Linked DNA regions of Homo sapiens: region 1 is linked to region 2. The links are contacts of gene promoters, found by promoter capture Hi-C in blood cells and fetal thymus (Javierre and others, 2016). All regions are on one chromosome and are shown on one strand. The core of a region is centred on a gene start or on the middle of the fragment in contact, and the rest is flanking DNA. Distances in the headings are between cores, read along the strand shown. Region 1 holds the start of TPGS1 (tubulin polyglutamylase complex subunit 1). Region 2 holds the start of PLPP2 (phospholipid phosphatase 2).

Region 1 (4,914 bases), core at 70-2,569, 220 kb before region 2:
ACCCTGAACGTGGTAGGGGGGACACTCCCCATCTCTCTTCTCCCCCCGAACTTCTCTGGGACTCTGGCGAGGGCTGCCATGGTGGGCGCTTATGCCCTGGTTATGAGGCTGAAAGGGCACCTTTGCTTGGCATCCTTCCCTGCCTGCTCTTCCCACCCCCTTCCTGGGTTCTCTTGGGCGCACCCCCTTGTAAAATCACCTGCACACACAATGCCTACCTCAGGCTCCGCTTCTGGGGACCCCCCCCCCAACAAAAGACATCAGCCCATCCATCCCCAACGCCAACAGATAGTCCCCAACCACCTTCCCTGGGCTCAGAACTGGCCCCAGCCAGGGGACACCGCGCGTAGGCACCTGCAGCCTCGCATGCTTCAGCCAAATTCCGTGGCTTTCCCGCCTCCCGTGTGCCCCACACTCGGGGTCTAAATTTGCACCTGCTGGGCCTCTTCCCTGCAACCCGCCCGCACATCGCCAGGCTCTTCCAGGAATCCCCACCTGCCCGCTGGGAGCCTGTCCCCTAAGATGGGGGCCCTGGGTGACTGCGCTGCTCTCTGTAAATATTCACGTTCTGGCTGAATGGACGGGGATAACATGAGGCTGCTAAGGAGGCGACTAGGAGGACCTGGCTCGGGGGCTGGCTCTGCGACCTCGGGCCAAGTCCTCTTGAGCTGCACGATTTTGAAAATCATGAACTGCAAGGGGAAACTCAGCACCTGCAAAAAGGCATCACAGAAGGCGAAGCCGGCCAGAAGGACTCGCGCCGCATGCAGCGCGCTGCCTAGCGCCGGACCGAAGCCCGGACCCTCCAGCCCACCTTGTCCGATCCATCCCACCCAAGAAGGCATCGCGCACTACAACTCCCAGCAAGCCCCGGGCCCCTGCGCCGGCGCTGCGGGTAGGGAGCCGCGCGCGGCATGCTGGGAGTTGAAGTCCATCGCTGCCCCACCCGCCCAAGCCGGCCCACTGCGCACCTCTGGGAGTGGTGGGCCAGGCGAAGGTGCCATAGCGCGCGGCCCAGGCGCTGCTGCTGCAGCAGGAGCTGGCCCGGGGGCTCCCCGGCGCCGCCGTTTACAGGCGAGCGCAGGCCCATGTTCTCGAAGTAGTGAGCCAGGAAGGCGATCGGCTCCTCGGGCCGCGCCTCCAGCACCTTCAGCAGGGCCGCACGTAGCATTTCCGTCACGCCGACCTGCCGCAGGAAGTCCTCCTCGCTCTCGGCCGCCCCCGCCGCCCGGGATACCGACTGGCGGCCGCTGTCCGTGAAACCGGCCGGCGGTGGTACCGCTTGCCGCCGCTTCTCCACTGCCGCCATCTTCGCTGAGGGCAGCGGGACCGGAAGCACCGCCATATTCCACTGTGCGCTAGAGCCCCCCCAAGGCGGCCATCTTGATTAAGGGCAGAGGGCACCGGTATCCCGCTGGGAGACTTTGGGAAGTGACAAGGGTACGCTACCACTTTCCTTGTGTCCTTATTGGCACTCTCTCTTCTCCTCCCTCTTTGTGTATATTGATTGGCTCTCCTGGCTTTGGCCTCGGTCCTGAATTTTGCCAGACTCCAAAATGGCTGCCTCGGAAGTGCTTCGTTTCTGGCACAAAGCCGGATTGCTTGCCATTTGGGTAGTGAGCGAGTCCTTCATTAGCATGGTCTCCTAGCAACCAGTCTCCCTGGTTAGCAGAGAAGCCTGACGGAGCATGCGCGGGGCTGGACCTGCCCAGGACTGCTGGACCCAGCCCCGCGCCCGGCCCCCAGACCCTTTTCTCATGTTCATCTCTGAGCCTTGGTGCTGGGGGTCGAGCTCAGCCTGGCCTTCCGCCTAACTCAGTCAACGTCTGAGTGCGTAGCTCACCTCGTGGGAGAAGCCCCCTCCCCAGCTCCGCTGCAGCTGCGCTGAGCCCCTATTGGCGGCCACACGGGCGAGCATCCCGCGCTGTTACCCCCTGACCGCCAGAGGGAGCTTTCTGACACCGCAGCCTCCAGAGCTGTAAACTCTGCCATGGCTCTCCAGGGCCCCCGGGCTGGCACCTCCAGGCCTTCATCGCCTGACCTCGCTTCCGGCCGCCCTCCCGGCCCTCCCAACCCTCCGCAGCCCGCAGCCACCTCAAAACACAAGCAGTCTCCTCCATAAGCCGCCTCTGGGTGTGTTTCCCCAGGCGACCTCTGTGGATCTTCCCTCACTGCTTTCGGGGACTCCTGGTTAAGCTTCTCACCGAGGAAACCACTAAGCCCTCGCGTTTCCCCGCCCCGGGCAGAGCTTGCTGGGTGCCGTCCCCGTCCCTCAGGGGCGTTGCCCCGGGCAGGGGGCAATGAGAGCTGTTTGCCGGGGGACCGTTCCACCATCCTCCCAGCACAGGAATCTCTGGCGGGCAGACCAAATGCCCTTTGTAAAACGTGAAGTAGAGGTTCCTCTTCAAATGAGACTTTCCTCCCCATCTAATTAGGAATAAATAGTAACTTCTCTTAGAAGCAAAATGTATTCAAAGGCCTGTGGTAGGCCGGGCGCGGTGGCTCACGCCTGTCATCCCAGCACTTTGGGAGGCCGAGGCGGGCGGATCACGAGGTCAGGAGATCGAGACCATCCCGGCTAACACGGTGAAACCCCGTCTCTACTAAAAATACAAAAAATTAGCCAGGCGTGGTGGCGGGCGCCTGTAGTCCCAGCTACTCGGGAGGCTGAGGCAGGAGAATGGCGTGAACCCGGGAGGCGGAGCTTGCAAGTGAGCCGAGATCGCGCCACTGCACTCCAGCCTGGGCGACAGAGCGAGACTCTGTCTCAAAAAACAAACAAACAAAAGACCTGTGCTAACATTCTTTGTTAATTAATTGTTAATGTTATATTGAATATATATAATGTAATAAGGAAATCAACATACTTTATGTTCTTAGTGCCCACAATGTAGGCTAAATATCTGCCCTGGCATGCTTATACTGGTCCAAGCAAGCATTAGGTCATAACCTGTTCCTCTTCCTTATTTGAAGGTGTTTTTACCTTTCTTAGCATTCCACAAGCTACTTCTTCCTTCCTTTGTTCTCCTCTGCCTTTGCCTCTTTTTAAAAGTTCCAAGCTGCTAGCCGATCGGGATAAATACAGAATGTGAGGTCCCGTTCCAGCCAATGGAAACCGTCCCGTTCCAGCCAATGGAAACCGGACAGAGCAGTAGGGTGGACGCGTCAGGTTATAAATGACCCTGTCTCCTTTGTTCTGGATACTCTCGTGGCAAAACTGCTGGCCAGTGTACCCTTTCTGCAGAAAGTAAAACAGTGGCCTTGCTGAGGAAATGACATTTATATTCAAGTGCTATTTCTTTACGGCACCGGGGAACAAGCATTTCTAACACTTTCTTCTCCAGCCCCGGACTGTGGGATGAGGGAGATGGAGCCATCAGGGCAGGACCCACAGTCAACCCTCTGCTGTCCGGAGCCCTCAGACCTCTCCTCTCCACGGAGTGGGTGTCAACTGAGAAAACTGACACGTTTGTATCATTTTAGGAGGTTTATTTGCCAAAGCCTCAGGAGGTCCTGACGACAGGGGCCCAGGGTGGTCAGGGCACAGCTTGGTCTTACGCATTTTTAGGGAGACGTGAGACATGAATCAATGTATGTAAAAAGTACGTGGTTCCGTCCAGAAAGGTGGGGACCACTCAGGGAGGGGCTTCAGGTCATGGGTAGGTGAGACAAACAGTGGCCTTCTTTTGAGTTTCTGATGAGCTTCTCCAAAGAGGCAATCAGAACATGCATCCATCTCTGTGAACAGAGGGATGACTTTGAGTAGAATGGGAGGCAGGTTTGCCCTGACCAGTTCTCAACTTGAAGGGGTCCAAGCTATTTTGCTTTCACAGGGGGAAAGGCTGGCCACTCAGGAGGGGCTGATCCCGACCTGGCCGGTCCCCCTTAACCCAGCCCAGGCCGACACCTGGGGCAGAAGCCTCAGAGAAGCTGGTGGGTGGGTGTCGTCCTCAGCCAGGTGCCGGCAGCGTTTCCAGAGGTGATAGGTGGGCAAGGCCAGGAGCAGCAGTCCCAGCACCGCACTGCTGGTCCACAGAGCCGCGGGCAGCTGGTCACCCGCAGGTTTGGACGCTGGGGAGAGAGTGCAGGAGACCCCGGTCAGAGCCCTCCAGGCCTCTGCAGGCTTGGGAAGGGAGGAGCCCCTCAGAGGCTACACGTGCTTCCAAAGTTACCACGTTCCCTGAAATTTCACAAAGGACTTTACCATGACCCTTTTGAAATGCGCATAGCACCTTAGAGTTTAGAAATGGGCAGTCCAGGCCAGGCGGGGTGGCTCACGCCTGAAATCCCAGCACTTCGGGAGGCCAAAGCGGGTGGATCACGAGGTCAGGAGTTCGAGACCAGCCTGACCATGGTGAAACCCTGTGCCTACTAAAAATACAAAGTTAGCTGGACATGGTGGCAGGCGCCTGTAATCCCAGCTACTTGGGAGGCTGAGGCAGGAGAATCACTTGAACCCGGGAGGTGGAGGTTGCAGTAAGCTGAGATCGCACCACTGCACTCCAGCCTGGGTGACAGAATGAGACTCTGTCTCTCAAAAAAAAAAAAAAAAAAAAAAAAGGGCAGACCGGAGAGAGGACGGCTCACCACCATGAAGGGTGCTGAGCCTACAATCTGCACTTTGAAGACTTAGTCTGGGGAAAAGGGAGGAATGTAATATATCTCCTTCATACTATTTTATATTGATTACCTGTTGAAATGATAATGCTTGGGATATATTGGGCTCTGCGAAATGTATGACCACACTTTTTTTTTTTTTTCGAAATGGAATCTTGCTCTGTCCCCCAGGCTGGAGTGCAATGGCGTGATCTTAGCTCACTGCCACTTCCGCCTCCCGGGTTCAAGTGATTCTCCTGCTTCAGCCTCCCGAGTAATCCTCAGCTGGGATTACAGGCACATGCCACCACACCTGGC
Region 2 (2,500 bases), core at 1-2,500:
TGCCCCACGTGCAGGTGTCTGACCATCCGGGAAGCAGGGTCGAGGAGCTCCCAGTTGAAGTCCAGTTGCTGAGACGCACCCTGTTTTGGTGTTGCTGGGGCAGGGGGCTGATGGTGGTGCTGAACGGGTTTTAGAGGAGGGTCAGGGTGGCAGCGGATCTGGGGCCCAGCAGCCTTGTTTCTGACCCCAGGCCTGCCACTTCCCATTTAAGTGACCGTGAGTGGCAGAGGTCAAGGCTGGACTCCGGAAACGTGGGTCTGACACTCCTGAGGCCTCCCGGATGGTCCCAGCCGAAAGGACCCAGTGTGGGTCCCTTGGGCCTGGGTTTCCCTGGCTCAGGTGCCCTCAATCCCCAGGCACCCTCAGCTCAGGGCTCCCCACGACCTGGTGGGGGCACAGACCCCGGCGCCATTTCATGGGGTTCCCAGCTCCTGGCGCCCCCGTGCTCTTCTGTGAAATGGGACAGCAAGTGCGCTGATAGGAACGGTGCCTGGGCACAGGGCTGCGCCTGGACACCCTACGCCGTCGCAAGGTGGGTGCCGAGGAACTCGAGCTTCTAACGTGCCAGGGGTCCAAGGACGCGCCAGGATTTTGAGTATTAGGAGAAAAGAAACTCCTGAAATGAAGCCACGTCGCCCCTTCCACTTTAAGGTGCCTCCTGCTGTCGGAGTTTCCAGGCGCACACGGCGCGGCTGCCACTCCCTGAGGAGGAAAGTCGGGAACCGTCCCGCGGGGCCGGTCCCGCCGCTGCTCGTCCTCCTTCTCCACGTCCCCGCCCGGGGCTCCGCCGGCCCGACCCGCGGGGAACCTCCAGCCTCTGAGGACCTCACGCCGCTCGGAGACCCGCACAGCCCGGGTCAGGGCCGGGACTCCGGGCGGACGAGGTCCCCGTGGCGCCCGCACGCTCGCCCCACCCGCTCTTTTGGGCGCCGCGGCCAGGCGGGGGCAGAGTCCGCGCGGTCCCGGGTCCGCCGCGCCCCGCCCCCCCCGCTGCTCCCCTGCCCGCCGCTGCCGTCCCCCCTCCCTCCTCCCCTCCCCCCCTTCTTCCCTTCCCTCCCCCTCCCCCCTCCCCTCCCCGCCCCTAGCCCTCCCCTCCTCCCCTCCCCCTCCCTCCTCCCCTCCCCGCCCCTAACCCTCCCTCCTCCCCTCCCCTCCCCTCCTCACCTCTCCCCTCGTGCCCTCCCCGCCCCTCCCCTCCTCCCCTTCCCGCCCCTCCCCTCCTCTCCGCGCGGGGCGGGCTCCGCGCCACGTGACTCCGCGGCCGGGCCGGGACGCGACGGGACGCGCTGGGACCGGCGTCGGGGGTCGCGGGGACCATGCAGCGGAGGTGGGTCTTCGTGCTGCTCGACGTGCTGTGCTTACTGGTCGGTAAGAGCCTTGGGGACCCGGGTGTTGGGGGGACCCTCCCGGGACGGACACGCCCCCGGCTGCGCGCAAGTTTGCAGGGGAACGCGGAGGCTGCGCGCCCTCGTCCCTCCGAGGACCCTGGAGGCGGGGACCTCGCGTGAGGACCAGACCTCCCTCCGCGCCCCGCACTGCGCGCGCCCTCCCAGGCTCGGGGGTCCCCGCGTCCCAGGCCCAGGGGGATGGGGGTCGCGAGAGGCCCGGGGAGCCGGGGCCAGCATCCCCCGCCCCGGCAGCAGGAAGTCTGTGCGGAGGGGCCGCGCGCGCGCCTCCATCCCGCCCCGCCTGGCCTGGGAGGTGAGTCACGCGGGCCCGGGAGGTGGGGGCGGCCGCGGGTTACCCCGGCAGGACGTCCGCGCCTCCGCCCCTGGGGTGGGCGCTCCCGCTGCGCGCGGAGAGGGCTGACCCTCGGTCCTGGCACCCGGTGCGTCGGCGGGATTCGAACCCGTGCACGTGCGGGGAGGCCCAGCCGCCCTGCTGGCTCGGGCGGGGGAGACACTGGGGATGAAGGCTGGGTCCCAGGCTTCGGGTGAACGGGGTGGCGGGGGGCCGGGAGGCCAGGAGAACCAAACCTGTCCGGCGGGTTTGCGGGCCACACTGGCGGAATGGGCATCCCGAGGCCCCCCTCCCGCAGGGTCCCGGGAACAAAGGCCGAGTGTTTGCTCTGTGGCTGCACAGACAATGGCCCTGGAATTCTATCTCTGGGGGGTGCCCTCCTCCCCAACGTGTTTCCTGCTTCTCTGCCATCTCACAGCAGAGGCCAAGTCCTCTTACCTCCGGAAGGAGACCCTTTTTTAGGGTGGGCCAGGTGACAGCAAGAAGTCCCTGTGGGTGTCTGCCAGCCCGTGGTACCATTTCCTGAGCACCTATGGTGTTATTTATGTAAACATTTAGGTGGCACTTTCTGTATGCCAGGAACTAAGCAACATGCAAATAACAAACATTTCCCTTACAACAGCCTGTGAGGGAGGTGCTGAGTCACCTGCCGGAGGTCACACAGCAGCGGGAGGTACAGCCGAGATGGGGTTGGCTGTTGCTGCTGTGTGCCAGGGGTGGTGGCCAGGCCGAGTGCACCTCTATGCTGGAAGCTTGAGCA

What was found. Contacts are between HindIII fragments. The CHiCAGO score rates a contact against its expected background, and 5 or more counts as called.
Region 1: a contact is called between the fragment with the promoter of TPGS1 here and the fragment with the promoter of PLPP2 in region 2, in 1 of 17 cell types (M1 macrophages). The highest score is 6.6, in M1 macrophages.

What each region holds. Positions count from the first base shown.
Region 1 is chr19:503,902-508,815 of GRCh38, reverse strand. It overlaps TPGS1 (tubulin polyglutamylase complex subunit 1), which reads right to left and starts at 1,319. Exons shown (of 2, transcript NM_033513.3): 1 at 972-1,319. The coding sequence starts at 1,309. It overlaps MADCAM1-AS1 (MADCAM1 antisense RNA 1), which reads left to right and starts at 927. Exons shown (of 3, transcript XR_936221.4): 1 at 927-1,440. It overlaps MADCAM1 (mucosal vascular addressin cell adhesion molecule 1), which reads right to left. Exons shown (of 5, transcript NM_130760.3): 5 at 3,473-4,071. The coding sequence ends at 3,851. RefSeq lists enhancers at 1,174-1,513, 1,386-2,243 and a silencer at 2,044-2,173. The HindIII fragment of the contact is 8,539 bases long and covers 1-2,198 here.
Region 2 is chr19:290,153-292,652 of GRCh38, reverse strand. PLPP2 (phospholipid phosphatase 2) reads left to right here and starts at 1,250. Exons shown (of 6, transcript NM_003712.4): 1 at 1,250-1,368. The coding sequence starts at 1,317. RefSeq lists enhancers at 1,356-2,053, 2,084-2,500, 2,054-2,500. The HindIII fragment of the contact is 12,026 bases long and covers 1-2,494 here.